3 separate regions of the Homo sapiens genome follow, and regions 2 and 3 are each linked to region 1. The links are contacts of gene promoters, found by promoter capture Hi-C in blood cells and fetal thymus (Javierre and others, 2016). All regions are on one chromosome and are shown on one strand. The core of a region is centred on a gene start or on the middle of the fragment in contact, and the rest is flanking DNA. Distances in the headings are between cores, read along the strand shown.

Region 1 (2,946 bases), core at 180-2,679:
CTTGACTTCCCAGGCCCCAGCCATCCTCCCACCTCATCCTCCCAAGTAGCTGGGACCACAGGCGTGCACTACCGTGCCTGGCTCATTTTTATATTTTTGGTAGAGGTGAGGTTTGGCTGTGTTTCCCAGGCTGGATTCACTCTCACGTTCTAGATCAGAAAGTTATCCATTTTGCTTTTGTTTTTTTCTCTTAGAAGGCAGAGGAATTTCTTTTTTTCTTTCTTTCTTTTTTCTTTTTTTTTTTTGACACAGGGCCTTACTCTGTTGCCCAGGCAGGAGTGCAGTGGTGGGATCTCGGCTCACTGCAACACAGAGGAATTTCAATAGTGTCCAAACTTAGGCATTTTAAGTAGGTGGTATGATGAAATGAGCTTCCAGCTGGAAGCCTGAGTACCTTTTTATTTTAAGTATAATAGTTTTCCCAACTGACTCTATAGATTTGGGCAAGTCTTTTCTCTCGTATCCACCTCCTTTTCATTTGTAAATAATTAGGTTAAAGTAGATTTCTAAAGTCCCTTACTACCCTAAATTTGAGTGTGAGGAAATTTTAACAAATCCTAATGTGAACCATTTTTTAAACTTAGAGGCTTGAACTTTTTTTGGAAGCGGACACTAGTAAATAAGTAGTACTTTCTCTTTCAGAACCTTGGCCAGTACAGTTCCCACAAGCTACAGAGAAGCAAATTTGGAGTCAAGACCATCAGACTTCCAGTACTTGATATAGTAGGGGGTTGTCCCCATTTGGAATACTTCAATAATTTAAAGGGGTTTCTATCTCTTTAAGACATCATAATATTAGAGCTGAGCACAGTGGCTCATGCTTATAGTCCCAGCAATCCCAGAGCTTTGGGAGGCCAAGGCAGGAGGATCACTTGAGGGCAAGAGTTCGAGACCAGCTTGAGCAACATAGCAAGACCTCATCTCTACAAAAAAAAAATTTTTTTTTTTTTAGCTGGGCTGGGTGGTGGGTACCTGTAGTCCCAGCTACTTGGGAGGCTGAAATGGGAGGCTTGAGCTTGAACCCAGGAGTTTGAGGCTGCAGCGAACTATGATTGCATCACTGCAATCCAGCCTGGATGACAGAGTGAGACCTTGTCTCAAAAAAAAAAAAACTTGGTAATGTTAGAAGTATAATTTTTAAAATTTAAGTATATCTTATGGAAGGTAGGGACATTAAACAGTGTCATACTTTAAAATCCACTCAGGAACCAAGTCTTAGACTTTGAAGGATTAGCCTGTTTATCCTTATAGAATTTTTAATAGGGATTTAGGAAAATATCTTGGATTTTTGGTTTTATCTCTGTTATCCCCACTAAGAACCAATTAAGTGACAAATCCTGGATTTGATTTTGGGAAAATGTCTGTGCATAAGGAAGTGAAGACTCCCAGGAACATGCAGGCAATTAACGTTGCAAAGGTCAGTGATGGAAGTAATCCCTTGGACTGGGCGATAGAGCAGGCTTGCTAAAACCACAATTTCTGTGGTTGAGGAGTTTTTCATTGCCTACCCCATCTACACTGTGTAATAATTAGATGTGTGTGGTATTGTTTAATTACACATAAGTTATCCTGATGGGAATTATTAGTGTTGACATATATCCTGTTTACAGGAGGAGAAAATGAATCCAGGGAAGGCAGCTACTCATTTATATCTCTTTATGCTAAATGTTATTCTTTATTAGGTTCTGTGGGAGTTTACTTAAAAAGGAAATCGAAATTACTTGTTCTCCAATTTCACATCTTCTTAAGAAAATAATAACACTTTGCTTTTTAAAAGACATAAAAACATTTACCAAGCAAGTACAAAGGAGCATGTAGTAGCAAGGTACAAAAGGAAGCCTGGCTGAGTACCATGGCTCACACCTGTAATCCCAGCACTTTAGGAGGCTGACATGGGGGGATTGCTTGAGGCCAGAAATTCAAGACCATCCTGGGAAACATAGCGAGACCCCATCTCTACAAAAAATTAAAAAATTGGCCAGGCATGGTAGCACATGCCTGTAGTCCCAGCTAATCAGGAGACTGAGGTGGGAGGATCACTTGTGCCCAGGAGTTCAAGGCTACAGTGAGCCATGATCGTGCCACTGCACTCCAGCCTGGGTGACAGAGCAAGACCCCATTTCCAAAAAAAAAAGTATCTATAAATAAAATGCTACTCATGGATAAAATGTGGTCTATGGATATAAACATTCATAAAATTAATAAAGGCAAATGAATTACTGATATATGCCTGGATAAATCTTGAAAAAATGCATGTGAAAGGAGGCAGATACAAAAAGTCACAAATAGTATGATTTCATTTATAAGAAATATCCAGAATAGGCAAATCCATAGTGACAGAAAGTAGAGGAATTGTTAGGGGCTGTGGGGAGAGAGAGTGGGGTGTGACTGCTAATGGTACAGGATTTCCTTTTAAGGTGATGATATTGTTCTTGAAATAGTGGTGGTGGGTGCACAACTCTGTGAACATATTAAAAACCACTAGATTGTACAGTTTAAAATTGTGAATTTTGTGGCATGTGAATTATATGTCAGTTTTTAAAAAACGAGTTCCTCTGTAATGAGTTGTGGGTGTTTTCTACTTTATTCATTTTTGGAGTCCATGATATTCATTGATGAGGCAGATGTTATCTTTGCATATTTGTCAAGTATAGTTAGATTAAAAATTAGTGGACTAATGCAGTTATGGCAGTTTAAAATTATGTTTGAGAGAATTTGGGTTTCTAAATATCTTTGGTTAACATAAGACTGTAATTATAGCAAAGACACTTTCTTTTTTTTTTTTTTTTTTGAGACAGAGTCTCACTCCATCGCCCAGGCTGGAGTGCAGTGGCGCGATCTCGGCTCACTGCAAGCTCCGCCTCCCGGGTTCACGCCATTCTCCTGCCTCAGCTTCCCGAGTAGCTGGGACTACAGGCGCCCGCCACCACACCCGGCTAATTTTTT
Region 2 (2,946 bases), core at 271-2,770, 1.2 Mb after region 1:
TTTATTACAGGTGACCTAACGGTGCCTGTTGTGCCTTATAAAGGCCAAGACTTTCAATTATCCCTAATAAGTATACAATAGGATACCCATTGTTTCCAAGTGCTTTTAAATTCTTGACGCTGATGAGACATTTGCATCGTGACCAGCCACCAGTAAAATCTTTTAAGCCACGTTTTTTCTGCTTTTCTTGGGCACTCTTTTTTTTTTTTTTTTTGAGACGGAGTCTCACTGTTGCCCAGGCTGGAGTGCACTGGTGGAATCTCAGCTTACTGCACCCTCCACCTCCTGGTTCATGCCATTCTCCCACCTCAGCCTCCTGAGTAGCTGGGACTACAGGCGTGCGCCATCACGCGCAGCTAATTTTTGTATTTTTAGCAGTATTGGTTGCGCCATGTTGGTCAGGCTGGTCTCGGACACCCGACCTAAAGTGTCCCGCCCGACTGGGCCTCCCAAAGTGCTGGGATTACAGGCGTGAGTGCTCGGCCTCGGGCACTCTTTACTGAGCAACAACAGGTTGGAGAAACTAGTAGGGCTTCCAGTTTTTTGGTAAACCTATTGTTTAAAAGTCTGCCTGGTCATCAGATTCCAGTCGTCTTGTTTCTGCCTCAGATGATAAAACTCTAAAATTATAGGATGTGAGATCTGGAAAATGTTTGAAAACACTAAAGGGGCACAGTAATTATGTCTTTCGTTGCAACTTCAATAGCATGTATATTTTACACACTTTCATGACCATTAATCATCTCCTAAAACTGGGGAAAGCTCTCTAAAACCTCCTTAAGAGTAACCTTATCCGTTACCCTATTCCACCAACCTCTTTGTCCTTTTCTGTTTCAAGCAACTTTGAGATACCGACTTCTCTATGGAAGCTTAAGCCGTAGATGCTAAAACAAACGTTTGCTCGTTACTCCCAGCAGAGCACCGGCTTTTAAAGGACCTCAACAGACACGTTTCTTAACCTTTACGAAACTTTTCCAGGGGAAACTTAAACCAGGAATTTTACAATCTGGCATAAATTCTGTCACCCGCCCCGTGACTCCATCGCCACACATGCCACCTGGCTCCACACCACAACAAACAGGAGGGAGCGGAACCCATGCAAAGCAGGAGCTTCCCCCGTTTCCGGCGTCTGGGTGGATCTACGTTAGCTGCCGTTTAGGCAGCTTACGCGTCAGGTGTGGGCCTAAGCCTGCAGCTAAGGTAGGCATCCGCAAATCTAGTCCTTCTCTGTGACAATTTCCAAAAAGAAATGGTTTTTGAAACAACGATCCACTGCTTCCCACACTATCCAGTTAGGTCCGGGACAGACCCTACCCAGCTAATGCACTCACCCAAGAAGGCAGTCGCTTTCGCATTTGAAGGGCGGGGCGAAAAAGACCGGAAATGAACATTGGCGACTTTTTTGCGCAGGCGCAGATGGCCGTCTCCCATTGGTCATCTCGGCTCGGTAGTGGTAGGAGGGACTTCCTTTGCACATGCGCCAGGCTGCTTTTCCGGCTTTGTTGGAGATTGACGCGGCAGTGCACACCTGCTGGTACGAGCAAAAGTAGCCGACAGGCCAGAGTTTCCAGTTTCGGTGGCTTCGTAGGCTTTTAGCTTCTGAAATCCGCTAAAAGCGGCGGTTCATTCATCTTCAAGTACCTAGCCTGACTGGTAGGGCTGCTCAGCATTCCGAAACATTTCGACCTGGGGAGGGGGGCGGCGGTGAAAGAATACTTTCTGTAGAGAGTGCCCCTCGCGTCGCCCCTGCTTTGAAGGCTTTATGTATTAACGGAATGCCGAACATTTGTGTCCTACTTGCTGACAGCGCACAGGATCCTTCTAACAGTATTTCTCAAGTACTTAACAAAAAGATGAAAACTTGAAGTCCAAGCCGTGCTGCTGATTCCGTCTCACAGTTTAAAGACTGTCCAGAAACTTTAAGCTTTCAAAACTGTACATTTTAAAATCCTGTGCGTTTATCTTCATTTTGCTGGGCAGAAAGCCAAAGTACTGGACTGCCTGGTTCAGGGCTGAACGCCTAGTACACCTGCTAACTTGGAGCTTCAGAGCCATGGCAACCAAGGAGTCAAGAGACGCCAAAGCACAGTTGGCCCTCTCCTCATCGGCCAATCAGAGCAAGGAAGTGCCTGAAAACCCAAACTATGCTCTCAAATGTACTCTTGTGGGACACACGGAAGCAGTGTCATCAGTTAAGTTTAGTCCTAATGGAGAATGGCTAGCAAGTTCTTCTGCTGATAGGCTAATCATAATTTGGGGAGCATATGATGGAAAATATGAGAAAACACTCTATGGTCATAATTTGGAAATATCGGATGTTGCCTGGTCATCAGATTCCAGTCGTCTTGTTTCTGCCTCAGATGATAAAACTCTAAAATTATGGGATGTGAGATCTGGAAAATGTTTGAAAACACTGAAGGGGCACAGTAATTATGTCTTTTGTTGTAACTTCAATCCGCCATCCAACCTTATAATCTCGGGATCTTTTGATGAGACTGTAAAAATATGGGAGGTGAAAACAGGAAAGTGTCTCAAGACTTTGTCTGCTCATTCTGACCCAGTTTCTGCTGTTCATTTTAATTGTAGTGGGTCCTTGATAGTGTCAGGTAGCTATGATGGCCTCTGTAGAATCTGGGATGCTGCATCAGGTCAGTGTTTAAAAACGCTCGTTGATGACGATAACCCTCCTGTCTCTTTTGTAAAATTTTCTCCAAATGGTAAATACATTCTCACTGCAACTTTGGACAACACTCTTAAACTATGGGATTATAGCAGAGGCAGGTGCCTGAAAACATACACTGGTCATAAGAATGAGAAATATTGCATATTTGCCAATTTTTCAGTTACTGGTGGAAAGTGGATTGTGTCTGGTTCCGAGGATAACCTGGTTTACATTTGGAACCTTCAGACTAAAGAGATTGTGCAGAAATTACAAGGCCATACAGA
Region 3 (2,946 bases), core at 169-2,668, 1.1 Mb after region 1:
GGCCCACCAAAGAGAAGAGGCCCTAGTAAATACCCCAGACTTTTGGATGGGACCATCAAGGACTAGCTAGGAATAAGGGTGAACCGGAAATAAATTAGCTTTCCCAAAGACTGAAGACCGGCTCTGAATAATCAGTCTTAGTTCCTTATTGGAATAAGGTGATCTGTCTTCAGTCTAGCTGTGGTCAGGCAAACTTGCCCTTAAGTCTCTCCTGTTGAACACACCTTCCCTTTCCCCAGCCCCCTTGCTCAAACTCAACTCTGATCTTAGTAAACACAACATCAGCGGGAGAATGCTGATGCAGCAGAGAGAAGTCCAGGACAAATGAACATTGCATAACCTAGGATTCAGGTAGAGTGGTCCTCTCTCCTCTCCTCTTCCCTGGGACATTTATAAATGTATTAATCTACCTCATCTCTTTCACCTTGCTTCTTGGCATGTGTTTTAAATCTGTCTACTATTCCGTGATCCCTGCTAGGCTGGCTTCAGTTTTTCTTCTTTTGAAGCCACTACTCCATTTGCTCCCCCAAAGAATTCCATGAAATTTAACATTAGCAATCATTTGCTCCAAGTTTTCGTTTGAGAGCAGTTGAGAGTAAAACGAGTATGTGTTTCATGTAGTTTCATTATTATTATTATTATTATTGTTATTATTATTTTTGAGGCAGGGTCTCACTCCGGTTGCCCAGGCTGGAGTGTAGTGGCGCGATCTCGGCTCACTGCAGTCTCACCGTCAACCCCGGGCTCAGGTGATTCTCCCACCTCAGCCTCCCGAGTAGCTGGGACTTCAGGCGCCCGTCACCACCCCCTGCTAATTTTTGTGTTTTTAGTAGAGACGGGGTTTCGCCATGTTGCCCAGGCTAGTCTCAAAACTCCTAGCCTCAAGTGATCCACCCACCTCGGCCTCCCAAGGTGCTGGGATTACAGGTGTGAGCCACCGCGCCCGGCCCTTAATTATTTTTGATACTACGCATACGTTATCAAGCAAAGGGGATGGGAGATAACTAAAAAAGGAATGTCCAGAAGCTTCCTGCATTCATGCTGCATGTGAGCCCTTTAGACACGAGGCGCTGACCTACTAATTTTGTAATACTCCCTCAGCCTTCAATCATTCCATCATTCATTCCATCAACGCGTATTAGGTACTTAGAAGCTATACAGAGGTGAGCATCGATCCGCCCTGGAAGAGCTTAGCAAAGACAGGTTTGTACATATAACTTTCTCCAACCTTTGCCATGGTCTGCAAACCTCCTTCTTAGCGAGACCCCCTCCCCGACCCCCGACTCTTCACAGGCTGGGCGCTAACCATTAGGAATGTCCGGCGAGAGAGCGTTACAAGACTACGTCTCCCGGCAGCCTCTGCGACAAGCGCCGGAGGGGCGCGCGTAGGCGCTCGGGCCGGCCCCCGCACGCAGGCGCACTGCGAACGCCGGCTGAGCTGAGTCTCGCTGCTCGGTGCGAGGCGGCGGAGAGCGAGGCCTGGTGAGCACCGCCGAGGCGCGGGCCAGCTCTTCGAGGTTGTGCGCGGGAGTGGCACGGCGGGCGGGCGAGCGAGGGGCTAACTTCAGCGGTGGCACCGGGATCGGTTGCCTTGAGCCTGGTGAGTGCTGGGGCCTTGCGGCCCCGGCCCCTCCCCCTCCCGCCGGCAGATCCGGGCAGTCCCGGAGGGACTCAGGAGAGGCCCTGGGGCGAGGGCGGGTGCCGGCAGGGCCTAGAGCCGGGGTTCCTGGGCCGGACGCTCGCGCCGCGTCCGTGCGTCACGGGCCCGGCTGTCCTAACGGCCACAAGGCCGGCGGAGGAGAGGGTGGGGGTGGGGAGCCCTGGTGTGATCGCCATCGGGAACGCCGGTCGAGGCTAGGCGGGGCGGGGCGGCGTGGCGCGGCGGCGGGGCTGTAAGCGGCGCCGGGGACTGCGGGGCGCCGAGGCAGCGGGCGGAGAGGAGGCGAGCGCGGAGCCTGCGCCGCGGCCGGGCGGCGGGCGGGAGGCGGGGGTGGGCCGCGCAGAGCGCTGTGACAGAGGCAGGAAGGAGCAGGGGTGGCGTGTAAAAATTCTAACCCTGGCAAAAAGGGACCGTCTTGGGAATTCACAAGTTACAGACCGGGTCGGAGCCGGCGGCCCGGAGGGAGGTGGGGGAAGCGGGGGGTGGAGACGGCCGGCTGCAGTTTACCGATGTCATAACAACATGGGCCTGGAGCGGCTGATCGGGGGTGTGGTAATTATAGCAATGACAGAACTTGGTCTGCACGCCGCGTGTGCGATGCGAGGGAAGCAGCGAGGTATCGGATTAAGCTCAAAACGGGAGGAGGAAACAAGGATGACTGGAGTCAAGGAAGTCGTCATGAAGTAATGTTTTAGGATTGGGTCGTGTTCCACTTTTAAATGAAAGCGTTCAAAATATTTGATTTTTAAGGTTTCAACTCAGAACAAACGATTGCCGAGTTTTTGTTTGTATTTTAAAGAGATGGGGTCTCGCTATATTGCCCAGGCTGTACTCCAACTCCTGAGCTCAAACTGTCCTCTTGCCTCAGCTTCCCAAGTAGCTGGGACTAGTCTTGGGCAACCACACCCAGCTCTGCAGAGTATTTTTTTTTCTGAAACGTACTGTCAAGTAATATTAACTTGAATTTCACCCTTTTTTCTTAAATAAACGGTTGCTTAAAAATCTCTATTAGTAGATGAAGTGATTTCCCCCCTCCTGTTTTGTTTTTTTTTTTCTTAAGAGATGGAGTCTTGCTTTGTTTCCCGGGCTGATCTGGAACTCCTGGCCTCAAGGCATCCTCCCTACTAGCTGGAACTACAGGCGGATGCCACCAGCAAGGCTCATTCTCGACATTGTTTTTGTCTTAACTAGCTTTTGCATTTGTAATATTTTGAAAGCAGTACACAAGTTATTTTTCCCTCCTTTTTAAAGATCAAAGAGATGAAAATTTAATTTTTCAAAGGAAA

Evidence for each region. Contacts are between HindIII fragments. The CHiCAGO score rates a contact against its expected background, and 5 or more counts as called.
Region 2: a contact is called between the fragment with the promoter of WDR5B here and a fragment that was not itself captured in region 1, in 3 of 17 cell types (non-activated CD4 T cells, total CD8 T cells and naive CD4 T cells). The highest score is 6.9, in non-activated CD4 T cells.
Region 3: the fragment with the promoter of KPNA1 here is called in contact with a fragment that was not itself captured in region 1 in 1 of 17 cell types (naive CD8 T cells); the score reaches 5.4 in naive CD8 T cells.

What each region holds. Positions count from the first base shown.
Region 1 is chr3:123,577,466-123,580,411 of GRCh38, reverse strand. All of the region lies in intron 2 of HACD2 (3-hydroxyacyl-CoA dehydratase 2), which reads left to right. Among named protein-coding and RNA genes, the nearest start is that of HACD2, 6.1 kb to the left of the region's middle. The HindIII fragment of the contact is 5,964 bases long and covers 1-2,946 here.
Region 2 is chr3:122,414,636-122,417,581 of GRCh38, reverse strand. WDR5B (WD repeat domain 5B) reads left to right here and starts at 1,520. Exons shown (of 1, transcript NM_019069.4): 1 at 1,520-2,946. The coding sequence starts at 2,054. WDR5B-DT (WDR5B divergent transcript) reads right to left here and starts at 1,376. Exons shown (of 3, transcript NR_125405.1): 1 at 1,332-1,376. RefSeq lists enhancers at 1-722, 826-1,025, 1,186-1,235, 1,266-1,505, 723-1,540 and 1 more. The HindIII fragment of the contact is 1,055 bases long and covers 872-1,926 here.
Region 3 is chr3:122,513,411-122,516,356 of GRCh38, reverse strand. It overlaps KPNA1 (karyopherin subunit alpha 1), which reads left to right and starts at 1,418. Exons shown (of 14, transcript NM_002264.4): 1 at 1,418-1,600. LOC107984000 (a long non-coding RNA gene) reads right to left here and starts at 1,328. Exons shown (of 2, transcript XR_924403.3): 1 at 1,229-1,328. RefSeq lists a silencer at 1,451-2,140. The HindIII fragment of the contact is 3,104 bases long and covers 1,029-2,946 here.